Regions from separate parts of the Homo sapiens genome. Here all the other regions are linked to region 5. The links are contacts of gene promoters, found by promoter capture Hi-C in blood cells and fetal thymus (Javierre and others, 2016). All regions are on one chromosome and are shown on one strand. The core of a region is centred on a gene start or on the middle of the fragment in contact, and the rest is flanking DNA. Distances in the headings are between cores, read along the strand shown. Region 1 has its middle 15 kb from the start of SPMIP3. Region 2 overlaps LOC105373262 (a long non-coding RNA gene). Region 3 overlaps LOC105373262 (a long non-coding RNA gene). Region 4 overlaps KMO (kynurenine 3-monooxygenase). Region 5 holds the start of CEP170 (centrosomal protein 170). Region 6 overlaps SPMIP3 (sperm microtubule inner protein 3). Region 7 overlaps ADSS2 (adenylosuccinate synthase 2).

Region 1 (3,760 bases), core at 127-2,626, 1.1 Mb before region 5:
AAAACTAGCTGGGGATTGTGGCACATACCTACAGTGCCAGCTGCTTGGGAAGCTACGGTCGGGGGATCCCCTGAGCCCAGGCGTTTGAGGCTATAGTGAGCTCTGATTGCAGCACTGCACTCCAGCCTGGATGACAGAGTGAGACCCTGTCTCAAAAACGAAAACAAAAACCAGAAAAAAAGTCACATAAAAGCAAAGTGCGTGCCTGCAATCACCTTCACAAGAGAGTTGAATGTAACCTCAGAGTTGCCTGGTAACCATTGTAGAACAGACAGGGCCAACCCCAGCAAGTGGGCCTCCCCTCCTGACCTCCCCGGCCCTTCTCTTCACTCCTCTGAGCAAAGTCAGCATCCGGGAGGGAAGCTGGTGTTAGTCCTCTGGATCCTGATGGAATCTCCCAGGGAAGCCAGCACTGTAGCATCAACATTTGTGACCAACATAATTGTAGAGGCACCGCTCATCTAACGACCAGCAGCAGAAGTGCCATCCAGAGGCTGTGATCAGAGATCTGTCTCCAAGAGTCACTGATAGTTTCCCAGAAAGGAAGGTCAGAGATGAAAGAGCACAGAGTGATAATGGCACAGATCTGGACCTGGTGGTCCGGCGGGGTTGCGGGGTGATCCTATTGCACTCTCACTGTCTTAAAATTATTGACTTTCTTGTTCATCATTTGCAGAAGCCAAACTCCACATCTTGTAAACTCCTATGCACCCAGACTTAACACAGAAGCAACAAATGTTAACAGGCTACAGGCAAGTGGAATTAACATTGGGCAGAGATTTTAGTGTGGAGATTCCTTAAAGAACTAAAACTACCATTTGATTCAGCAATCCGACTCTTGGGTATCTACCCAGAGGAAAAGAAGTCATTAAGCAAAAAAGATACTTGCACACACGTTTATAGCAGCACAATTTGCAATTGCAAAATCGTGGAACCAACCCAAATGCCCATCGATCAGCAAGTGGACAAAGAAACTGTGGTGTATATATATATATGATGGAATACTACTCAGCCATAGAAAGGAATGAATTAACGGCATTTGCAGCCATGTGGATGAGATTGGAGACTATTATTCTAAGTGATGTAACTCAGGGATGGAAAACCAAACACTGTATGTTCTCACAGATATGTGGGAGCTAAGCTATGAGGACACAAAGGCATAAGGATGATACAATGGACTTTGGGGACCTGAGGGGAAGGGTGGGATGGAGGTGAGGGATAAAAGACCACAAATAGGGTGCAGTGTTTACCCCTCGGGTGATGGGTGCACCAAAATCTCACAAATCACCACTGAAGAACTTAGTCATGTAACAAAATACCATCTGTTCCCCAATAACCTATGGAAAAAAAAAACAACCACTGGGCAGAGTTTTGGTTCCCTGCCCATTATTCTTGCATTCAGTCATATTAAGCCACCAGGAAATCTTTGCCCACAGAATCACAGAAAATAGGGCTGGACAAACCTTGGAGACCATTTGGTTAAATGAGTAAACTGCTTAAGACCATAGTAAAATTACTCCATCCATTCAGAGCTTACTAATGGAGCATGCTGGGCATGGTGCTAGTTGCTGAGTAAACCGTGGTTACAGCATAGGCCGCTGGCAGATCTAGAGAAAAACCTTACTTCTATTGACGCTTGGTCTTTTCTTGTTCATACCTCATGGGAAGGTCAGTGACCCCTATCAGGGTCCATCTAATATGTTTTGCAAGAATAATTTTTTTTTTCTAGATAGAGTCTCACTCTGTCACCCAGGCTGGAGAGCGGTGACATGATCTCGGCTCACTGCAACCTCTGCCTCCCGGGTTCAAGCAATTCTCCTGCCTCAGCCTCCCAAGTAGCTGGGATTACAGGCACACACTGCCATGCCCAGCTAATTTTTGTATTTTTAGTAGAGATGGAGTTTCACCATGATGGCCAAGCTGGTTTCAAACTCCTGATCTCAAGAGATCCGTCCACCTCGGCCCCCCGAAATGCTAGGATTACAGACGTGAGTCACCGCGCTTGGCCTGTTTTGCAAGAACAATTTAAAAAGATTCTCAGGGCAGGAAAACCACTTTTGCCTGTTGTGAGTGAAATGGCCGGCAAGAAACCAGGAAAGGAAAGAGAGGAAGGTTGGAAAAGTTAGGAAGTCTTTGAGGCAGGGATCAGAAAACGTAGATGCTCCAGGAGCCTGGCAGATATGCATAAGTGAGCGGACGTGGTTAGTGACCACAACAGGGGTGCCCTGCAGGGGTCGGAGGTCATCTAACCCTGCCAGAGGGAGCGGCTGCCACTCAGCTCTGAACTCTTGGTGCGTGTTGTGGGACTATGGCCTAGTGTTGCCAGGTCTTCCCATATTTCAAGAGAAACCAGATTTTTAATGGGAACTTTCTCAAATTCTAGTGCACTGAGCAAGCTGAACAAAACATGGAGTTACATTTATCTTATCAGCCATCGGTTTTCAACCCTGTGAATTAAAACATTTAAAAAATTACTTAGATGCGTCAAACAAAAACAAATGGTTACCTCTCCGCTTCTTTAATTCCATTTTGCCTTTCCTGCAGTGTTACTTCCTTTGCTTTAAAAAGGCCCCCAAGTCCATTATGCACAATAATGTAATTGAAAGTTTTCATTTGGTAGTAGAGCTCCACTCGCACAAACCATTCCAGGTGGTACCTGAGGGACGCCTTCAACGTCCAAATATACGAGGCCTCAAAAGCCAAGGAAAGCGCACCTGGAGGAGATGTGTGTCCACCTGGGCAGCAATGTCTTTTCCTGCTGTTTTCTCCTAAGGTTCCCGCATTGTCTCTTCGGCAAAGAGAAATCGTACCCTTTTCATGGACTAGGACACTTCAGCTGATTGAGCAACACCTCTCAGCCTTGGAGCCCGGCACTCCCAGCTGGTCACCAGGCCTCCCAGGGCTGAGGTGTGGTGGAAGGAGGGTTGGGGTCTGGGAGAGGTAATCCTCAGGAACAGGCGTGGCCCTCAGCAGCCAAGCAGAAGAATGGGGCTTGCAAACGACTTCAAAGATTTTAAATATTTGCAGAAACTTAATCCATTCCTTATTCGTGAAGCTAAAAGTATTTTTTAAAGTACCTTTTAGTTACAGCTGTGGAATTTAGGAAACTGCTGTAGGAATTACTTGCTCATAGACACTCCTTACAAGAAGTCACTCCTTACAGTGGCTGCGTGGAGGTGGCTATTTCTGCTAACTGGTCTGCTGCTTAGTCGCCCTTATCCACGAGGATATGTTTCAAGAACCCCCATGGCTGCCTCCAACCATGGATAGCACCAAACCCTATATATACTATGTTTTTATTTTTATTTATTTTTTCTTTTTAAATCCTGCCCCCAATGTGATAGTCACGTTTTTACCTATACATATATACATAGGATAAAGTTTAATTTATAAATGAGGCACAGTAAGAGATTAATAGCAATAACTGGCCTGGCATGGGGGGATCTTGCCTGTAATCCCAGCACTTTGGGAGGACAAGGTGGGTGGATCGCTTGAGCTCAGGCGTTTGAGACCAGCCAGGGGCACGCGGTAAAAACCTGTCTCCGCAAAAAAGACAAAAATTAGCCAGGCATGGCAGCCTGTGCCTGTAGTCCCAGCTACTTAGGAGGCTGAGGTGAGAGGATTGCTTGAGCCCAGGAGGCAGTGGGTGCAGTGAGCCAAGATTGTGCCACTGCACTCCAGCCTGGGTGACAAGAGTGAGACCCTGTCAAAAAAAAAAGCAATAACGAAAGTTAAAAGAGAACAATTATAACAATGTGCC
Region 2 (3,934 bases), core at 63-2,562, 1.1 Mb before region 5:
CACCCAGGCTGGGGTGCAGCAGTGGCGTGATCTCAGCTAACTGCAACCTCCGCCTTCCAGGTTTAAGTGATTCTCCTGCTTCAGCCTCCCGAGTAGCTGGGATTACAGGCACACACCACCACATCAGGCTAATTTTTGTATTTTTAGTAGAAATGGGTTTTCACCATGTTAGCCAGGCTGATGGACGCTACCTTATAATCAGCTGGTCCATCCCCCTGTGTTTTAGAGACAGAAACCAAGGAAACAGCAGTGACTTGCCAAGGTCACAGAACTTGTTCTTCTGAATTAGATTCTATATTCAATGCATTGAAAGTTTGTGATCAAAAGTCAGAGTGAAGTAGGGATTTGCAAATAATAAAAACTGAGGTGCAAGAGCTTTTTTTAAAATAACGCTTTTTTTTTTAAAGAGACAGGGTCTCACTCTGTTGCCCAGGCTAGAGTGCAGTGGCACGATCACAGCTTACTGCAGCCTCCAATTCCTGGCCACAAGTGATCCTCCAGTCTCAGCCTCCTCAGCATGTACCATCATGCCTGGCTAATTTTTATTTTATTTTATTTTTGAGATAGGGTCTTGCTCTGTGTCTCAGGCTGGAGTGCAGTGGTGTGATCTTGGCTCACTGCAGCCTTGACCTTCCCGGCTCGAGTGATCCTCCCACCTCAGCCTCCCAAGTAGCTGGGACTAGAGGCATGCACCACTATGCCAAGCTGATTTTTGTATTATTATTTTTTTTAGAGGTGGGGGTCTCACTATGTTGCCCAGGCTGGTCTTGAGCTCCTGGGCTCAAACAGTCCACCTGCCTCAGCCTCCCAAAGTGCTGGGACTACAGGCATGAGCCACTGTGCCCCACCTCACGTTTTATTTTTAGTTTTTTGTAGAGACGGGGTTTTGTTGCTCAGTCTGGTCTGGAACTCCTGGCCAGCCTCAAGCAATCCTCCCACCTCAGCCTCCCAAAGCACTGGGAATACAGGCATAAACCACTGCTTATGGTCAAAAATAACACTTTCATGTATAATTTTCTCATTAGAAATTTGTCAAATCACACCTAGAACTGAGAACACCACCGAGCCTCTTCAGGGACTTAGAAATCAGGGAAACCCCTGATGTGTGTGAATATACATTGGCCTGCGTCCTGGCCGGGGAAGGCAAGTTTAAGTTTTCAGAGGATTTGTAGGTTGGATGTCATGATTGCCTTCCTCAGGGCTGTCATTTCTTAATGTCTTTTATATTCTTCTTCTCATCTCCCTTCTGCACTGAGTCAGGGCCTCTCTCATGGAGCAACAGTCTTCCCACAGAGAGTAAAGTCATCACAGTGGAGGCTTGCTCAACCTTTACAAATTCTAAAACCACAGGCCAACATTAACTTCCTCCATTTCTCACCGGAAATCAACATGGCCACCACCATCGTGCCTCATCCTGCTCCTCTTGGACTGTAAATCATGGCTTGTTCATTGTAAGCCGTCAATTGCATGTTGTTTCAGTTGTCTGCCAACTCAATTCTATCAGTGTGTTTTGACTGATAGAATTTTGTAAACTCCCTTTTACATTTATTTGTATTTGACGAGATGGTTTGATTTTGTTGAGCTGTCTTCCTCTTTGTTATCCCTCCTATCACAGTTCTTGGAGCTCACTACCCCTTTTCAGATTGTCATGGGCAGGCAAATTGCTGGTCCCCTCGCCTTGCAAGGTCCTTTGCATAACCACACAGTTTTCACTTGAAAAGACAATAGAGTTGCCAGATAAAATACAGGCCCCTGCAAGATCTGGAACACACTCTGCACGATGCCATGCAGTATTTGGGATATACTTATGCCAAAACTTGTTCATTATTTATGTGAAATTCAAGTTTAATTTGAATTAAATATTGGCACCCGTATTTTTATTTGTTAAATTTTTATTTGTTAAATATTTGTTAAACTTTTATTTGATATACTTATGCCAAAACTTGTTCATTATTTATGTGAAATTCAAGTTTAATTTGAATTAAATATTGGCACCTGTATTTTTATTTGTTAAATCTTGCCACCCTCAAGTACAAACGCCTCTGTACCTCAGAGGCATAAGAATGTGCAAATGGGATTCATGCAACTCACAACCTAGACCTCCCTCTCTTTTCTATCTTCAAAAACCAATGTTCTTTTACTGTTAAGAACCTTGGGAGAGAGGGAAATCACAAGGTAGTCTTAAGCAGATTACTACACTCTTGTAGTGATAACATTTAATTAAAAAATTGATTTATTTTTCTTCTGACTTAAAAGCAAAATGAAACAAAACAAAACAAAACCCCAAACCACAAACTCAGGCCTCCTCTCTGGGCTTCCCTGCACACAGGCTGATGTTAACTGCACTGAGCACCCTGGGAACATCAGTCCAACTGCAGGCACTGGAATCGCTGTAGACCATGACGGACAATGGCTCCCATACACACAGTATTCCAGTCTTGGGAGTGAAAATGGCCCCGTGCAGCCTCACGGCCCATGGGTTTAGGCTGAACTTTGAGACCATTTCTTTTTATTCACACCTGGGATGGCCTAGCCCAACTGAAACCAAGCAACCTGGACGCCCTATCAGTGGCTGTGAAATCATAGGCCAAATTCCTCTGTGGCAAAGACTTCCTGTAAAAAATACCGTTAAGGCCTAGCCAGGTCCGAAATGAATAAATGAATAATCATTGATTATTGATCAATGCTTTTTAATCAGTGCCCTCTGTGAAAAGGAACTATCCCTCCCCACAAAACTCTTTTATGAATAGAACCAGAATGGTTGAAGGGTGGTTTCATTCTTTTTTTTAAGAGATGGGGTCTTGCTGTGTTGCCCAGGCTAGTCTTAAACTCCTGGCCTCACGTGATCCTCCTGCCTCAGCCTCGGCCACTGAGCCTGGCTCATTCACTTTTTACCTACTTTTGGAACCTCAAATGGTAACTAACTTACCAAGTGATTGGCATAGCTACCAAGGTGAAATGTTAAATTTAATGCAGTGTCACATCGTTCTTCCAGATTCGTGGTGAGTAGGATTATCCAACAATCCCTCTCATGTATTTCTTTCTTTTTTTTTTTTTTTTTTGAGATGGAGTCTCGCTCTGTTGCCCAGGCTGGAGTGCAGTGGCACGATCTCGGCTCACTGCAAGCTCCGCCTCCTGGGTTCACACCATTCTCCTGCCTCAGCCTCCCGAGTAGCTGGGACTACAGGCACCCGCCACCACGCCCGGCTAATTTTTTGTATTTTTCATAGAGACGGGATTTCACCGTGTTAGCCAGGATGGTCTCGATCTCCTGACCTCGTGATCCACCCACCTCGGCCTCCCAAAGTACTGAGATTACAGGCGTGAGCCACCGTGCCTGGCCCCTCTCAAGTATTTCTAACCAAAATGATCAACCTTCTGTACCCTGAACTTACAGATTCTGTTCTAAAGTCAGTGTGAGAATTATTCCATCTAGGTTAGTACATTTGTCTCTAGAAAAACGACCCATGGGGAGACAGTGTTCCCCATGCCATTCCTTGCCTTTTGGGCCCACCACAAATCCTGATATTTAAGGCCCTTAAGTTAAATAATTCTGCCATGAAGCATGAAATGTAAGTACAGCTTAAATAATCATAAAAGAGAGACTATATGTCCAAGCAGGCAGCATGCACCTTGATGGGTGATGAGTACGTTAAGATAAATCATGCCCAGATTGCAAGGTGTGGGAGGCGTAGTGCACCATCCAGATTGCCCGGCAAATCTGAGGGACTCTGGGAGTGCTGCTGGCTGACAGCCTTCAGCTGTCTGTCCTCTCCAGAAATTGCTCTTGGCTGCAGAGATCCTCTTGCTTAAGGTCATGTCCTCTTGTGAGGGCAGTCGGTATCCGATGACTGTTCATTGCAGAGGTATAAGGGCTCGGACCCCGTGCCCCAACTCATGACAACTCTGAAGGCCCATGGGGTCAGCTGAGGTC
Region 3 (3,442 bases), core at 601-3,100, 1.0 Mb before region 5:
TGAACCCGGGAGGCGGAGCTTGCAGTGAGCCGAGGTCGCGCCCCTGCACTCCAGCCTGGGCCACAGAGCAAGACTCCGTCTCAAAAAGAAAAAAAAAAAAAAAAGAACCTCCTTGTAAGTCAGCCTCTCCCAAAGGAGGACATGGAGGGCCAGGCTAGTCCTAGAGTCTCTAGCAGGGCCACTTCCCTGAAGTTTTGTTCCTTGCTGGCTTAGCCCAAATAAACAGACCACTCTTCCTGTAGCGCTAAAAAGTCACTCGATGGCTTTCTGTTTCAGATTTGGTTTCAGAAGGGTTTTGTCAGCTTTCTGTAAACTGCGTCTGTAATTGAGGCCGGCCGCCTCCAGGTGGCACCAGTGTGCCGTCCCACGCTGAGTCTGCTCTGAGAATCAAGACGTTTCACTACCGCCCAATTCATTTGAGGAACTACTGCCAAGATGCATCTTCCTAACGATTTCTCTGCCCAGAGCCCTTCAGAGGCTTCCTGTTGTCTGCTAGATAAAGCCAAGCTATCAGTGCTCTCAGCCTGAGAGCAAGCTGAGATGCAGTCTTGTCTGAGTCTGCAGGGTGGTGGGAGAAGAGGCATGGGGCTTTTTGGTTGCAGTAGAGGGAGGAGATTGTTTGAGAAATGGGGGGAAAGAACTGAAACAACCAAAACAATGAGAGTGAAAAGGAACCACGACACCAGTGTCATGGACTTGTGTCTCTGCAGAGAAGCAGGGCATGTCGAAACTGCAAGCTTTTCGTTTCTCTCTCTCTCTCTCTCTCTGTCTCCTTTTTTGGAGTCTCGCTCTTGTTGCCCAGGCTGGAGTGCAGTGGTGCGAGCTCACCTCAATGCAACCTCCGCCTCCCGGCTTCAAACAATTCTCCTGCCTCAGCCTCCCGAGTAGCTGGGATTATAGGCGCCCGCCACCATGCCCGGCTAATTTTGTATTTTTAGCAGAGACAGGGTTTCACCATGTTGGTCAGGCTGGTCTCGAACTCCTGACCTCAGGTGATCCACCCGCCTCGGCCTCCCAAAGTTCTGGGATTACAGGTGTGAGCCACCACGCCCAGCCTAAAACTGCAAGCTTTTCACACAAGACCCAGGACTTACATTTTTTAGTGCTCACTAACACAAGTAATAAAATGTGACACAGAGGGAGGGAGGGAGGAGAGGGGCTTTCTCCTCTACCTTTACAAGAAACACAGTGAAACCGCTTTGCAAAAATTAGGTCAGTGAGAGAACTATGGCAGTGAGGGAGATCTGATCTAGCCAACCCTCATCTTGCCTTTAGCCTTCAAGTTGCCATTAATTGTTAATATTTCTGGGTGTAGGCCAAGCTAACTTTGAGAGTTAAATGATAATAGCCCTTTCCCCAAAGTCAGCTGCTTTTGTAAAAGTAATGAGAGACCACCAGGCTAGCAGGGTAGAGGAGCCTGAATTCTGCTAAGGTGTAGACATAAATGATTGCCAACCATTATTCTGCAGGTCATAAGATTTGCAACCTCCCAGATTACTCCTGCAGATAATATCACCGTTATAGAGCCTAAGATTGGCCTTTGGGATATCTTTTCAGTCTTTTTTTTTGATGTCTGACACTCATGCCTCCACCTAGACCCACTGACCCCTCCTGTGGCCCCACCCACAAAGGACTCAGGCACAGGAGGACCATTTCCCACACCCCTATGATTGCACCCCCAGCCAATCAGCAGCAAGCACCCATTGCCCAGACACCTCCATCCCTTCTCCCAAACTACCCTTCAAAAACTCCTAACCTCTGAGCCTTCAGTGAGGTCGATTTGAGTGATAACTCCATCTCCCATGTGGCATGACTGACCTCGAGTCAATTAAACTCTTTTTATTTTTTTGAGACGGAGTGTTGCTGTGTCACCAGGCTGGAGTGCAGTGGGGCGATCTCAGCTCACTGCAACCTCCACTTCCAAACAATTACTCTATCTCAGCCTCCCGAGCAGCTGGAACTACAGGTGCGCACCACCACACCTGGCTAATTTTTGTATTTTAGTAGAGACTTGGTTTCACCATGTTGGCCAAGATGGTCTCGATCTCCTGACCTTGTGATCTGCAATGCTGTGGTCTCTGTGAATGGATTTTGTTTGTGTAGTGGGCAGGAAGCACCCATCGGGTGGTTATAACAGCATGACTCTAGGCTTGCCACACAGCTGTGACGGTGGCACACAGCAGCCCTCAAATGGCTTCACAAGCAAAAAACAACAGAGGGGCCCAGGGCCAAGGAACGTGAGAGAACTCTTTATGAGCTTAAACGACAAAACCCAAGATCCCCGAAACACTTGGAGAGGATTTTGCAAAGTTAGATCTCCTCTATCAAGGATGTTGGGATAAGAGTCAATGAAATAGAATTTTGGTGGCTGCTGGGGGCCCATCAGCACCTACTAGCTGGAGAGCCAGAGTGGCATGTATTTCATCTTCCCGGGAGGTTTTATTACTGACATTACTCCAGAACCTCCTTATAAATTGGCCTCTCCTGGACACTTGCTCTTTTAGGATTAAAAAACAACTTTGTTATTATTCTCTTTCTACCACTGCCTTCAAATAAAGCTATTTTTCTCCATTCCTGGACAATCTCTTGGACGAGGGCTACAACTCAGTCAGGCACAAAAGTACCAAGCTTTTGAATATTGGAATCGCCTCACTTTTCAATCTAAGGACAGAGCTTCAGTCTTTCAGCCAGTTCATTGCTGCTTTTGCAGCCGTATCTTCTATCACTTTTTTTATTTTTATTTTTTCAAGTGAACACTTAATTTTCCATCCATTTCTTTTCTTCTTTCTCTCTCTCTCTTTTTTAAAATTAATTAATTAATTAATTTTTTTTGAGGCAGTCTCACTCTGTCACCCAGGATGGAGTACAGTGGTGCAATCTCAGCTCACTGCAACCTCCACCTCCTGGGTTCAAGCGATTCTCATGCCTTAGCATCCTGAAGAGCTGGGATCACAGAAACATGCCACTGCACCCGGCTAACTTTTGTATTATTATTATCATTATTATTATTATTATTTTGGTAGAGGCAGGGTTTCATCACGTTAGCCAGGCTGGTCTCGAACTCCTGACCTCAAGTGATCCACCCACCTTGGCCTCCCAAAGTGCTGAGATTACAAGCATGAGCCACCGTGCACGGCCTCCATCCACTTCTGAGAGTGACATTGCAGTGTTTGAGCCAAGATTCCAGTCTTTGGGCCTACATATACTATCTTCCCCTTCCTGCTCCCAGTCCTCAGAGTTTCCTGTTTGCTTTTTATTTCTTTTCTTTTCTTTTTTTTTGTCTCAAGATCTGTTTGTGGACTCCAGAGCTTCCTTGTTTCATTGGGAGGCCGTGTGGTAAGACGTGAAGACACAGGATGGGCATGTTGCTGATCTGGCGATTCCCTGCTAGCCCTGTGTCTTATCTGCTGTGTGACTGAACAAATCACATGTCCTCCACGAT
Region 4 (3,614 bases), core at 579-3,078, 1.7 Mb after region 5:
CGGCTCACTGCAGCCTTGACCTCCTGGGCTCAAGCAATCCTTCCACCTCAGCCTCACGAGTAGCTGGGACCACAGGCGTGTGCCACATCCCTGGCTAATTTTTGTATTTTTTACAGAGACAGAGTCTCCCTATGTGGCCCAGGTTGGTCTTGATATCTTGGGTTCAAGCGATCCTCCTGCCTTGGCCTCCCAAATTGCTGGGATTACAGGCATGAGCCACTGTGCCCAGACTGCTCCTTTCTTTTTCACTCCAGAAAGCATATCAAACAAGGAAGGACTGAGAATCGTGCTGTTAAAAAGATACCCATGCATCCCATTTATTCTTCATTACAAAGTTCTTGTGATAGGCCTCAAAATGGATCAAGACATGCTGCTGAGAACCACTGCACTAGAATACGCATTCGCGCTCATGGAGCAAGGGTTGTGGGAAGGGGTTGAAAAAGGGCAAGGACTTACATCTCCGTTCTTAGGTGGAATAGTCAACTCCATGTACCCATGAGGAATGTACTGCTGACTGTAATCAAAGCGAGGTTTCTTCATCAGGTGAGATCTGACAGTTGAATAGGCTCCATCACATCCTACAATGAGGTCACAAGTGACATCTTTGGGAACTTTGTCAGATCTGAAAAATAGAACAAAACATCCAAAAGAAAAATATGTCTAGTGGTGAAAATGATGATGTACCTCTGGGTATGAGAAGTAGTGGCTCCATAGATAACTTAGAAAGCTCACTTTCACATGTTTGACTTGGAGCTTTGAGTTAATAGATGTAACATTTAGATGAAAACACTTGTCCCAGTCATAAGTTTGCTTATGAGAATAGCACAACACCATATTGATTAATAAAGACTTGGTAGGCCACAGAAGTGTGACAGGATTTGAGATTTCTGCATGAAGGAGGAGAATCTTGAAAACAGGGCAAGTGTTCCAAGTGTACGAATGAATGTATGAACAACCACAGGATTTTCTAAGAACAATACATTTGTCTTGAGCACAGGTATTAGAAGAAAAGCTTAAGAAAAGAATACAAGGTAGGGAGAGAAAGGAAGGGGAAAAGAAGAGAATCTTGAATGTCAAGATAAAAGATTTTAAAACATTATTCTGGCAAAAGGGAAACTGAAATTATCTATTAGGGGAATGATGTATGAAGAGTTGCAATTTAAGAAAACTTCCTTGGCAGTTTGAAGAGAAGGCCGAATGCCAAAGGGAGCAGAAAACAGGGATGAGGTGATGGCAACACATTATATTACATGTGCAGGAATGAGAGCCGGAAGTACTGTCCTGCAGCTAGAAGGAGGAAGACAGACTCTGAAGCCAGTAGAAAGTAGGATAGACTGGGGAGTGTTATAGATTTAATGGGAGAGGACAGGGGAAAGAACACATCATGAATGATTCAAATTATTCAGGCATTAGTTCTGGGGAAGTCAGGAATGGGATGTGATTTGGGAGAAGTAGGTGATCAAGGTTTTAGATATGTTTGAGATAATGGCAAGATGTTCCAGCAAGGATGTTTGATGAGAAGTTAACATAAATTGATTTGAGCTTCTATAAGGATTTAGAATGAAGAAAGAGGCTTGGACTGGAAATGTTCATCTTAGAGATGTGGTTGTTGAACCCATGAGCGTGGATCCATAGCATATCGCAAGAGTGGGATATGAGGCTTGGAACCTTAGAGGAAATAGAATCATCCAAGGAAAGGCAGAGAAATAGCACCTGGAAAGAGAACAGGAGGAGAGCAGTGGAGGGTCACGTATATTTGAGAGAGGAGAGAGTTTGAAGCACATTAGAGTCACCAGTGTGGAATACAGTACAGTAGGAAGGTGAGCAAGTGTGAGAATTAAGAATTATTGGCATTGGTGTTCAGATGGCCATCAGGGCCTATTTGCAATCTAAAATTCCTTGAATCTAGAAACTATTTGGATGATCCTTTCAATAATCTTTTAACTCTTTCAAAAGAGCCAAAGAACAAAGTTTGCAGATACAATTCTCCACTCCCAGCTTTCACCTCTGAAGTCCAAAACCTGACCCGTAGTTACCCAAGCACTGTGATCATTCCTTCCTCTGGATTACATTTCAACAGCCTGTGGTTAAAGTGCATTTTCACATTGGGGTATTTCTCAGCAGCTGAGGAAATGGAGAAAGAGGCAAACAGAAATGAAATCTCAATTCTTACTTCACTTAATCAAATTGAAATAGTAATTGTTTTCTGGGAACAGTATGGTAGAGAATTTTATTCATAACAATGTAAAAATAAGTTCACTTAAATGGTAATTTGACAACTGTTTGGTAACTATTTCAGTATAATTTGGTAGTAAAACAGATGAATAAAAATCAATTATCCTCATCTCAAAAAGAAAACATCCAACTGATTCCATTGTGCAAACTCTTGCATTGCTGTAATTATTAGCACCCTGGGAAAGAAGCAAGCATCACATATTTCAGAAGTCGCCTCTAATCCGAGGCTTTGTTGTGACTGGAAATATTCAGTCAAACTCCTTTCCTCATATTACGCATGTCTCTATATCTCTTTTTAGCTAGTTTTCTGGAATTCTGATTGAAGTTGTCACAAATAGAGATTGTTGATTTTAAATCTCTTTGAAATCAAACACTGGAATAGTTAGGGGGAAAATGAGTAAGAAGCTTTGAAACCTCTCAATAAACTGAAACAAATTATTTTCGTAATTTTCTGTTTTGCCTGCTAGCACTCTAGAGAATTGAGTGAATTTCAATTTATGAACTATTAATTATGCCCTTGTTACAACAGTAAAATGTGATTTTGTCCCTATTAATGCTCATGTATTCATCTATAAATATAGCCTATTTATTGTTCTTAAAGGTATAAATCAGAATACAGGTGTTAGAGCTGGAATAGACTTCAGAGATGATTTAGTTCAAAATCCTTCATCTTAAAAAAGGAGTAACTAAGATTCTGGAAGTAAAGGTAAAATGCCTGAGATCACACAAAGTGAAAAAATTAAGGACCAAACTCATCAAGTTGTACACATTAATTATGTACAGTTTTTATATGTCAAAAACGTAAATAAAAAGAATGTTGAATTTGAAAAAAATGGGGAAAATAAGGCAGGAGTTCTATTCCTGCCTGTACTTATCTCCTCTCTTCATCTCAATCTTGTCTTATTTTACTCTTTTTTGTTTCAGTTTGATTTGGGGTTTGAAGATTTTAACTTTCTTGCAAAATCTGAGAGACCCTAAACCAAAGAAATTCATCTATGTAGAAGAAGTAGTTTGGCAAATAACTTTGAAGTAATCAGAATTGACCTGATATACTAAGGATATATTTTAGAAACATAACATGTGTTTGTGAAAAAAACTTTTAAAAAATTATGTTTATTTTTTACATAAGTATATAGTATTTTGCATCCTAAATAATTTTTTGTAGAACGTTACTCCTGGGATATACTCCCTAAAAAAACTGTTCCATTGCCAAAGACTAGAGTAATGCTGAATACTCTGTCTTGGGCTATGCTGCCCTGGTGTCCAGCCACAGGTAGTGTTTGAGTACTTGGAGTGTGGCTATCCTAAATTGAGATGTGTTGCCTGTATGGGATTTTGGCAAATTAGAACAAGTATATATAAAAAGAATGACAGTGAAT
Region 5 (3,417 bases), core at 1-2,500:
AATGGCATAGAGCTATCCAAGAGTTTCTGCTGTCGCCGGTTGAGAAAGATGCCAAGTTAAGATCAAGGAGTTGATTGAGGTAACTACGGGAATCTGAGGAAACATCGTTGCTTAACTGTAAAAACTAAATCAAACTATTTCATCCTCCTCAAGACCACAGCAACATCCATCTTGCTCCTCTGTAGCGTGGACGGGGCAGAACCCAGGTGTTAGGAAACGCACCTGGTCTGCTCCCGCCCACTAGGCCCTGGGCACCTCGGGGCTAGGGACAGAGGTTTGGAGCAACTCACCCCGGAGACTCCGTTGATACTGCCCCAGAATCTCCTCCAGGGTAGAGTTCTCCGGGGACTTCGCCATGCACGCACTCTAGGCCCAGAGCTGGGAGTTACGTGGGGAAATGTCCAGCTTTCTCCCTTCCGAGAACAACAGGCCTGTGGCCGGGGAGCGCCCGCCTGCTTCCTGCCGCGGCTGTCACAGGGGAGCCTAGAATCCCGCACAGAGCTCTTGGGGGCTCTTCCCACCCACTGGCCCTCGCTTTGCACGTCGGGAGTTGTAGTCCTCACGTTCAGAACCTGCAAGCTCGACAATCCTCAGGGCCTTCCAGTTACACTACAATTCCCAGAAACCACTGCGCTCCAGGCGCTAGCTTGGACGGTTTGGCTGCCAGAGCCTGCTGCCAAGAGACAGGCTTGCAGGCCCCGCCCTTTTCCTCCAGCCCAGCCTGGTTTAGTCCCGCCTCCATCCCACTCTTCAGCTGCCTGGACCACCCAAATGACAGAAAGGGCTCACTGAAGGCCTTGACGCTTCGAAATTTGCTAATATGCAGCAGTTGATCCCCAGGCTACTCAAGGACGCAGATAGTAAACTCTGAACCCTGCTTCAGTTGCGAGATTTTTTAAAACGGTCGAATAAATCTTCAAGAAATAGAAGCTCTAAATCTTCCAAACAGCCTAGATTGTAAAGGCGGCCGACACTACAACTCCTAGCATGCCCAGCAACCGGACCTTCACTTGGAGTTGGCGCTCTGCCCGCTGGGAACTGTAGTCCTTGTTGGTTGCGGTCCCACCTAACGCCGAGGTCCTCTTCATTGTTCAAGCTGGTCTTTCGGGGCACGCCTGCGCAGTGGGCAAGCTGGAAAAGCGTGTGGGTGAGACCCTCGCACAACCCCTTTTCATTGTCTGTGTGTGGCGCCTGCGCAGTAAGGGATCGTTGGAACTGGGCAGGAGGGGATAGGGTCCGGCTCCTCGCCCTTTCCCGAGGCGCCTGCGCACTAGGCAGTCGGTCTTTGCCGTTACCGCTATGTGTGGGGCGTGTGTGGAATAACGTTATTGCCCAGCGGAGCTGAGGGCCCCGGAGCTCGACCGCAGCGGCAGCGACGACAACAGCGGCGACGACGACGACGACGAGGTGGGGGGAGGACGGCGTGCGAGAGACTCACGGGACGCGACGCGCCCCGCCTCCCCCGTCCGGTCCCTCTCTCCACGGTAAGGGGTAAGTGATGCGATCGGCTGCTCGGTGTAGGCGCCGCAGCCGCAGCCACCGCCGCGGCTGCTTTCCACATCCTGCTCCTCGGGTTTGCGGCGAGGACTCGGGCGCCGCCCGCCGCGGGGCGGGGGTGCGGGGCTGGACCGCGAAGGGGGCGCTTCCCGGGTGCTCCGCGCGGCGCCGCCACCCCCACCCTCTGCCCGCCTGGGACCCGGGGCTTGACGGGACCACCCTTCCCATCCCCCACCCGCCGCCCCCCGGAGCTCCAGTCCTGCGGCCCCCCGGCTTTCCCGAGCCCCTTGCTGCCGCCTCCGCATCCCCTAAGTGCATTGAATCATTTTCAGCTTTCGACTGGCTTTGTGCAGCCCTCCCCCCTCCGCCGTAGCAGTTTGCGAGGGGTGCGGGCGGAGCATTGGAGGGAATGGCTGCGCTGCCGCTGGGGAAGGGATTTTTCCCCCATTGGAGCAGCTCCCCGGGCCAATCCCTTTTGTGTGATTGGTTTTGGGGTGTGAGGCGGTTGGCGAGGTCAGGCGAGCAACCTTTTGGACGCGTTGGGAGGGCGTGGAAGACGCGGTGTCATGCACCCTGCCTGGCGACTGCACCCCGTGGAGGCTCTGGCTCTGTAGTAAACCCGGGGGAGGAGAGAGTGGCTTCCTGTCGGCTTCATTGTCCTAGGATTCAGATGTAGGGTTTTGGTACGTTTCGCTTCCATTTTATGCAAGCGATGAAAAAATAACATTTGCAGCTGCCTAACACAGGGCGGGAAGACGTGGGATTTGTATACTAAGTCACAGAATCTCTGTTCGGTGGTGTTTCGTAGAGTTTTATTTATTTATTTATTTATTTATTTATTTATTTTGAGGAATGTAAGGAAGACAGGGACTATGCCTGCTGGAGTCCAAGCACTGCCAAGGTGATCAATATAAAATTACTAGGTGACGTTGGAGCCTGGGCTAGAGAGGGCCTGACAACGAAGCTGTTGTGTCAGGGAAATGAACAAGCAGAATTGTTTTTTCATTGGGCAGGTAATGCATTTATGTTCCTGAGGGAATGGATACATCTTTCCGTTTATTTTTTAAGCAAGTAAAACAAACAAAACAACTGGCCCAGTACATTTCTGTTACCGAAGTTGTTAACTCATTTTTATTCTCTTAATGAAAATTCAGCCATTTGGGAGGAATTTGGCGAAGCAGATGATACATTTGATTGAAAATGCATATTTTAAAATGATTTAATCCTTAAGCTTACAATGTATGCAGCCGTTTGCTGGCGTTGCTTCTTAAAACACACCAGAAGAGAGAATAAAGCAGGATGGGGAGGAGCAGGTGGAGGAATAATGGGAGAGGAGAGAGTGACATTATGACTATAGTATCTGGATCTTCACTGGTATAACCCTAACTGGGTATGCTTCAGAGACTTAGGAATTCAGCTCTGGAAACAGTACACTGATGAATAGCAACTTATGTATTTTTCTGTTATTATTTTTTAAAAAGTAAAACTAGGGCTGCCTTTAGCTCTTCCTAACTTTGTAGATAACACGGAAGAGCCCAAGTGCACTTGACAGAGGAAGACACTAAAACTCAGAAAGTTAACTGACTTGTCTGCCCAAGCCAGACAGTTAATCGAAGGCAGAGCCAAACGAAACTCAAGGTCCATTCTGCAGAGTGATCTTTCCTGTGTCCCCCTAGCCCTTTTACCTTGTGAAAATGTATGGAAAGCTTCTCTATGTGCTCCCTGAGTAGGCTGTGACTATCACTGAACTTGATTCTCACCGTGATTAATCTAGTTCTTGCCTTTGTGATGTAAAAGTAGTAATCCTCCTAAAATGGACCTTTACTTTCATAAAGTAACTTACTACATGAGGAAAGATGTCCTAACATGTGCTTTTCATAAAAACGAAGTGTTGCAGTGTTTTCCCTACTACCTAATGGT
Region 6 (3,626 bases), core at 208-2,707, 1.1 Mb before region 5:
CGGGTGTGGTGGCTCACGCCTGTAATCCCAGCACTTTGGGAGGCTGAGGTGGGAGGATCACGAGGTCAGGAGATCGAGACCATCCTGGCTAACACGGTGAAACCCCGTCTTTACTAAAAATACAAAAAAAGTAGCCGGGCCTGGTGGCGGGCGCCTGTAGTACCAGCTGTTTGGGAGGCTGAGCCAGGAGAATGGTGTGAACCCGGGAGGCGGAGCTTGCAGTGAGCCAGGATCGTGCCACTGCGCTCCAGCCAGGGCCATAGAGTGAGACTCCGTCAAAAAAAAAAAGAAAAAGCAAAAGCAAAGGTACTGTGCTAATGTTAGCTGGGCATAGTCTCCTGTCTCACTTCATTGTTTTTTTGGTTTTGTTCTGATCAGTTGTGACCCAAGATCCTGTCTCATTTCTTAGTGGGCCTTCCTACCTCACAAGCTTGCAAGCTAAGCACGACATTTCCCAGAGTGCCTCACAACAAGAATCCCGGCTAGGAGTGAGCGCCCTTGCATCGGCTGTACTTGCTTGAGATTTGGAAGGTGGACATTAGGCAGAGGCTGCTGCCTTGATCTTCTCTACTGGCAAGCAAGGTTGTGGAGCATATGGCACTTTTCCAGCGTCTCATCTCCAGCTTTGGGGCATTCAAGAAGCAATTGTTGCGAAGGCAGTGGCTGAAGTCTGTGTCCCAGGGTTCAAATTCCAGCTTCCTAGGTGGCAGAGACAGTGGCGTTGGGAGTAGGTTCTTGAACTCAATACTCCTGGAAGCAGCTTCCTGATCTGGACTGACATAGCTTTACCAGTGATGGGTCAGTTTTGTGGAGATGTTCTAGATGCCTCCTGGGGGCCCCACCCAGAGCCTGTTCTTCCAGCCCTTCTGAGGATTTTTTGTAAGCCATTCATTCTCTATGTTAGCCCCCTTTCTGTTCCCCACTGACCCTAGACTAAACATATAGGTTGTTTCTAGTCTAAAATTTCATATCACATCTGATTGTTTGTTTGTTTTTCACAGGGCCTCACTCTGTCGCCTAGGTTGGAGTGCAGTGGCACAATCGTGGCTCACTGCCACCTCCACCTCCCGGGTTCAAACAGTTCTCCTGCCTCAGCCTCCTGAGTAGCTGGGATTATAGGCACCTGCCACCATGCCCAGCTAATTTTTGTGTTTTTAGTAGAGATGGGGTTTCACACCATGTTGGCCAGGCTGGTCTTGTACTCCTGACCTCAGGTGATCCACCCACCTCGGCCTCTCAAAGTGCTGGGATTACAGGCATGAGCCACCGTACCTGGCCCACATCTGATTATTTACTGGAGAATATGGCTTGCCACAAGCAAACTACTACATTTAAATAATCACATAAAGTGGTGAGACCCCAACTCTATGAAAAATACAACAACAAAAAAAAAAGCCTGGTGTGGAGGTGCATGCCTGTGGTCCCAGCTACTCAGGAGGCTGAGGCGGGAGGATCGCTTGAGCCCAGGAAGCGGAGGTTGCAGTGAGCCAAGATCACACCACTGCACTCCAGCCTGGGTGACAGTGAGACCCTGTCTCAAAAAAAAAAAAAAAAAAAAGTTCACAGGGAAAAGAGTAAACAATGAGAAGGAAAACTGAGTGGCTGGGGGACAAAGGCATACTTTTTACCATTTACCTTAGGAATTTTGCACTCTGCATATCTATTATGTATGCATAGACAGCTGGGCCTATGGTTTGCACAAACATGGCTAGTGGTGTAGCAGGAGAACATCGGACTGAGACCCATGTGACCTGCGGCAGGTCATTTTCCCACTCTCCACATTGATTACAATAGCTCTCTGGAGGGTTGAATGAGGCAAAGATGTGTGCGAGAGTGTTCTGTGTCCTTGAAAACATCTTTGAGAAAGGAGAAATGTGAGTTCCTATTGACAATCATGGATTATGTACCAGGTAACATGTATTAACTCCTATTAGCCTCCCAGCAACCCTACAGAGTTTTACTGCTATTTACTCCCAAGAAAATTGAGGTACTAAGAAGTTAAGTAACTTGTATGAGGTTACCAAGGAACCAGGGCTGGAACCCTCTGGCTGCAGAAATATTTATTTTAACTCTTAGCTCTATCAAAACAATCACAAGGCACCCAGACCATCAGCCAAAACAAAACTAGGACTATTCAGTAACCAGGAGACAGAAAGGACTGGAAAAAAAGAGTGTGTGATGTCTCCTCCTCTTCCCTTTCATAGACAACGGTTAACTCATTGCCTGCCGGCTGGCCAGCTGCTTTATTTCACCTGAGTGTGTTTTTCAAAGCAACTTGAAGATTTTAAACAGCATTACACTATAATGGAATAGTTGGCTATCCAACAGAGCCTAATCATTATATAATGTACTTTTACTGCTGTGATTATTTAAAAAAGAGAGAGAGAGAGAAAGAGAAAGAAGGAAGAAACAATGAGAGAGAAAATCTGAGTAAACACAGCTGAGCTCTTGGTTAATCTGCTAACCCGAACTCCGAAAGCTTCGTGACTGGAGTTTACTTCAGTGGAAGTGACAGGCTGGACAGAAGAATGCCAGGTATTCAGGGCTTTTGAGCTCCTAACAAAGACAGCCCCCACTATCCCTTTGAAGACAGAGTGAGTGCTCAGTGCCTAGAAATTCTGAATCAGTCTTGTAAGGGAATAAATCGGTCATGGGTTGCCATGCTTTTTTAACAAAAATTTTTATTTTTAATTATTATAGATATATAAGAGATGTATGTATTTATGGGGTACATGTGCCATTTTTATATAAGCATACAATGAGTAATGATCCAATCAGGGTAATGCGGGTGTCCATCACCTCAAGAATTTATCATTTCTTTGTGTTAGGAACATTCTAATTCCACTTTTTAAGTTATTTTGAAATGTAGAACAGGCCGGGCGCGGTGGCTCACGCCTGTAATCCCAGCACTTTGAGAGGCCGAGGTGGGCAGATGACTTGAGGTCTGGAGTTTGAGACCAGCCTGGCCAACATGATGAAACCCCGTCTTTACTAAAAATACAACAATTAACTAGGCATGGTGGCGCATGCCTGTAATCCCAGCTGCTTGGGAGGCTGAGGCAGGAGAATCCTTGAACCCAGGAGGCAGAGGTTGCAGTGAGCCGAGATCGAGCCACAGCACTCCAGCCTGGGCAACAGAGGAAGACTCCATCTCAAAAAAAAAAAAGAAAGAAAGAAAAAAAAGAAATGTACGATAAATTATAGACAATAGTCACCCATTGTGCTACCAAACACTGATCTTTTTTCTTCTAACTGTATTTTTGTTCCATTAACCATCCACCGTTTATTCCCTCTTCCCCACTCCCCTTCCCAGCCTCTGCTAACCATCATTCTACTCTCCGTCTCCGCAAGTTCAATTCCTTTTCTTCGACAAGTTCAATTTTTTTTCAAGCTCCCACATATTAGTGAGAACAAGCAATATTTGTCTTTCTGTGCCTGGCTTATTTTACTTGATATAATGTCCTCCAGTTCCCTTCATGTTGTTGTAAATGACAGGATTTAATGCTTTTTTTTTTTTTGAGACGGAGTCTCACTCTGTCACCCAGGCTGGAGTGCAATGGCGCAATCTCAGCTCACTGCAATCTCCGCCTCCCAGGGTGAAGCAATTCTCCTGCCTTAGCCTCCTG
Region 7 (3,429 bases), core at 78-2,577, 1.2 Mb before region 5:
AGATTACTGTTTGCATGGTGTATCGCTTTCCATCCTCTAATAATCCTTAGTGTATCTGTGTCTTTAGATTTATAATGTATTTCTTATAGACAAAATGTAGGTGGGTCTTGCATTTTATTCATTGTGACAATTTCATCCTTTAATTGGAATGTTTAGACTAGTTACTTTTACTATAGTTAATTATCACTATGGTTGGATTTATGTCTGCCCTTCGTTTTCTTTTTATTTGTTCTTTTCCTGCTTTCTTTTCGATTGAACATTTTTAATATTATCTCCACTGTTAACTTACTAGCTATACCTCTTGTTTTATGAATTTATGAATTTTGGTAGTTGCTCTAGGGGCTGTAATATGCATCTTTTACGTTACTTGAGTTACCTTCAAATATTTCACTTAGAAGGTTTAAACAGTTGATTTTTTTAAGGAAACTTAAAAATTATTAAGTTGCTGGCCAGTTCTTTACATTAGTATACTAATGCAAGGACCTATTGCATTAACCTTTTGCCCTGTTCACTGAATCTCATAATTCAGTTTGTACTATAAGAGATGCTTTTTCAGGGAAAATGGCCTGAGAAGTGGTTGAGACACTTAAAATTTAAATATGAAATCCAGATTAGTTAGGTGGCTGTTCTTTTATTTAATATCTATGTATTAAATGCCTACTGTGTCAGGTATGGTGCTGAGCACTAAGGATTCAGCAGTAGAAAAAACCAAAAGCATCCCTTAATGGAGCATATCATGTATTAGTGAAAACAAATCATATCAATAGAAATATGTAATCGATGTAGCATGGCATATAGTGCTCAGTTCTGAGGAGAAATAGTAACTCAGAGAAAGGAGCTAGGCAATGGCAGGCAGTTTGGAGGAGGAGGTAGGGGCCTACAATTGTATATAATGTGGCCAGGGAGGTTTCACTGAAAAGTGACAGTTGAGTAAAGACCTCAGGGAGATGTGAGAAAGCAAGCAAAGTGGCTATTACATGTACCAAGTCTCACACCAAGCATAGTATAACATTAATCATATTAATAAAACTTAACTATAATAGTAAATTAAAAATTTAAAAATGCTGTTAATAAACTTAGCTAAAGGTGCACAGTTATGATGGTTTTTTTTGTTTGCAGTATCTAGGCTGTAGAAAGTGAAACAGATATTCCAAGGCTGTTCTTTCAAAACAGTAATAGTGGAGGCATTAATGCTCCATGCCATGGTGAAGTCTTATGAAAGTAATTATTCTGATTACAGTAATTGCTTCCTGGGGCCTAGAAAAACCAAGGAAAGCATTAGTTCTATGACAAGGTACTAAATTAATTTCTGAAAAATATGGTTCACCTGCTTTCCATCAACCATTTATTTGTGTGTTGTCAGTTGCTTTTTTACTTTCTTTGAGCATAGAAAACAAAACATTTACATTCAAATGTCTTTTTATTCAAAAGAAATGAGAATGGCGTACTCTAAGATCTCAGTCTTGTCATGACTGATTTGCAAAATCAGGGTTTAAAACAGCCCTTCAGAACTATTCTGGCCTCTCAAGTAACTGAGAAAGACTATTGCTTGGGCAATAAAATGGGAACATGATGATAAACTAACCCTTATAGCTCAGAATTATTGTTTACATAAAGAGTATTTATTCTTTTTCATTGCTATATAGTATCCCCTTATATGACCATTTCACACTTTTAAAAATCCATTCATTCTACCATTGATGAAAATTTGAGTTGTTTCCAATATTGGGATATTACAAATACTATTACCCTGAGCATTCTTGTAGATAGATATCTTTTGGTGTGCAGTATACTGATATGGCTTTAAAGATGTTACTTTTATCTAACTGTGTGGCACTAAGACAGATACTGCTTACTAGATATTTTTAAATCACACATATTTAGCTTCTGAAATATAACTAATTAGTATGTACAGCATCAAAACTTTTCTACTAACACACCAGGGAAACCTTTGATCATAAAAAGATATGATTGTTAACCTTGCCAAACACAGGGGGAGGACTGCCTTGATAGTTTTAGTAGTGTCTCAAAAGGAGGGAATTAGAGAAGAGTACATACATGGTTTTAGGGGCAGGGTTAATCAGAGGATGGGTTTAGATTGGGTTATCAGACTTTTCTAGCTTCACCATCTATAACTTCAGTATCAGTCTTCTAATAGTTCTAAATAGTTCTTTTACAGATGCTACCACTAATCCCAAGAACCTTATATCAGTCTTTCTGTTAAACATCTACACATTTCAACTTAATTATTTGGAAACAGTGACATCATTAGCAAAAAGAAGCTATGGTTAAATATGCTAAAAATCAGTAAATTGTACATCTTAAATGGATGAATTTTGTGGTGTATAAATTATATTCCCATAAAGCTGTTTAAAAACAAAACAGAAAACAAGAAGCCTTGGTTAGAAGTTCAGAGACCAAAATTCTAGTTTTGCCTCTTCTATAAACCATCTATTTATTGAGTCAGTAAATATTTGAGGACATGTTTGCACCGGAAATCAACTAGTAGGCTGAACTGACATGATCCTAATACTCTCAGAGCATTGGCAGGGGAGAGAGGGAGTACAAGTTATGTGTAGGTGTAGAAAGAGGCAATATTTCATGCAGAAGTACATGCCTTGTAGCTGAGGGCTGCAAAGAATGCCAGTGTGACCAGAGGGCAGTGAGGGTGGCAGAGCATGGTATAAGATGAAAGTGTAGACTGAATTTTGTCTCTTTTTTTAGAGCAGTGGAAAGCCATGGAGTTTTAAGGGCAGGGGAGGTGTGAATGCCATATTTGTGTCTTGGAAAGATGGCTTTGGCTGCATGACAGCATTTGGATTAGAGATGTCTAAGAATGGAAAGAGGTACACACATTAGGAGACTGCAGTTTTGGTGAGAGGTGATGGAAGCTCGAGACTAGTGAGGAAAAGGGAGGTGTCAACATGAGCCCTAGATTCTTGGAGTCCAGAACTTGAAGAAAAAAGAGTATTTTTGTAAATTGACCTTTGTTAAATTTTAGGGCAAGATGTTTCAAAATTACCCTCTTAATGACTTATTTTTTAAAATAGTATAGACTGCAATAAATAAGAACGAAAGATCAGACATTTTCATATTAATGTACTAGTTGGTGTTATAAACTTCTATCATCACTTCTAAAAATGTGTTTAATTTATTATACTGAAATGAGGCTGAAGGGATTTATAACTTCAGTAATTTGAAATGCGGTGGATTTTGCTTTTGTGTATTATCTTTGTTTCAACAACTGTGGTTTTATTTCCCCTCAGTATTTGATTTTCATCAAGCAGCTGATGGTATCCAGGAACAACAGAGACAAGAACAAGCAGGAAAAAAGTATGTGTGGGTTTTTGTTTTTTTGGTACAGTTTAAGCATATGCAGACCTTTATATTTTAGTTCTAGACCAGAAGTTTAAGAAAAATAAGTATTAG

Evidence for each region. The method cuts DNA at HindIII sites, captures the fragments that hold promoters and counts their contacts. A CHiCAGO score of 5 or more calls a contact.
Region 1: a fragment that was not itself captured here is called in contact with the fragment with the promoter of CEP170 in region 5 in 2 of 17 cell types (neutrophils and M1 macrophages); the score reaches 5.1 in neutrophils.
Region 2: a contact is called between a fragment that was not itself captured here and the fragment with the promoter of CEP170 in region 5, in 2 of 17 cell types (neutrophils and monocytes). The highest score is 6.7, in neutrophils.
Region 3: a contact is called between a fragment that was not itself captured here and the fragment with the promoter of CEP170 in region 5, in 10 of 17 cell types (fetal thymus, M0 macrophages, non-activated CD4 T cells and 7 more). The highest score is 13.0, in fetal thymus.
Region 4: a fragment that was not itself captured here is called in contact with the fragment with the promoter of CEP170 in region 5 in 1 of 17 cell types (M0 macrophages); the score reaches 5.4 in M0 macrophages.
Region 6: a contact is called between a fragment that was not itself captured here and the fragment with the promoter of CEP170 in region 5, in 1 of 17 cell types (M0 macrophages). The highest score is 8.0, in M0 macrophages.
Region 7: a contact is called between a fragment that was not itself captured here and the fragment with the promoter of CEP170 in region 5, in 1 of 17 cell types (neutrophils). The highest score is 11.1, in neutrophils.

What each region holds. Positions count from the first base shown.
Region 1 is chr1:244,335,816-244,339,575 of GRCh38, reverse strand. No RefSeq gene overlaps it. Among named protein-coding and RNA genes, the nearest start is that of SPMIP3, 15 kb to the left of the region's middle. The HindIII fragment of the contact is 5,430 bases long and covers 1-3,760 here.
Region 2 is chr1:244,317,202-244,321,135 of GRCh38, reverse strand. The region is part of intron 1 of LOC105373262 (a long non-coding RNA gene); the gene reads left to right. Among named protein-coding and RNA genes, the nearest start is that of SPMIP3, 33 kb to the left of the region's middle. RefSeq lists an enhancer at 1,195-1,604. The HindIII fragment of the contact is 7,427 bases long and covers 1-3,934 here.
Region 3 is chr1:244,296,540-244,299,981 of GRCh38, reverse strand. All of the region lies in intron 1 of LOC105373262 (a long non-coding RNA gene), which reads left to right. Among named protein-coding and RNA genes, the nearest start is that of SPMIP3, 54 kb to the left of the region's middle. RefSeq lists an enhancer at 191-260. The HindIII fragment of the contact is 1,560 bases long and covers 1,071-2,630 here.
Region 4 is chr1:241,559,175-241,562,788 of GRCh38, reverse strand. KMO (kynurenine 3-monooxygenase) reads right to left here. Exons shown (of 15, transcript NM_003679.5): 6 at 2,037-2,124; 7 at 457-622. Among named protein-coding and RNA genes, the nearest start is that of KMO, 29 kb to the right of the region's middle. The HindIII fragment of the contact is 1,628 bases long and covers 1,015-2,642 here.
Region 5 is chr1:243,253,114-243,256,530 of GRCh38, reverse strand. CEP170 (centrosomal protein 170) reads left to right here and starts at 1,250. Exons shown (of 20, transcript NM_014812.3): 1 at 1,250-1,491. It overlaps SDCCAG8 (SHH signaling and ciliogenesis regulator SDCCAG8), which reads right to left and starts at 490. Exons shown (of 18, transcript NM_006642.5): 1 at 291-490. The coding sequence starts at 357. The HindIII fragment of the contact is 10,208 bases long and covers 1-2,730 here.
Region 6 is chr1:244,360,776-244,364,401 of GRCh38, reverse strand. All of the region lies in intron 1 of SPMIP3 (sperm microtubule inner protein 3), which reads right to left. Among named protein-coding and RNA genes, the nearest start is that of SPMIP3, 10 kb to the right of the region's middle. RefSeq lists an enhancer at 1,883-2,708. The HindIII fragment of the contact is 2,049 bases long and covers 433-2,481 here.
Region 7 is chr1:244,424,225-244,427,653 of GRCh38, reverse strand. ADSS2 (adenylosuccinate synthase 2) reads left to right here. Exons shown (of 13, transcript NM_001126.5): 5 at 3,267-3,333. Among named protein-coding and RNA genes, the nearest start is that of ADSS2, 26 kb to the left of the region's middle. The HindIII fragment of the contact is 4,493 bases long and covers 1-3,429 here.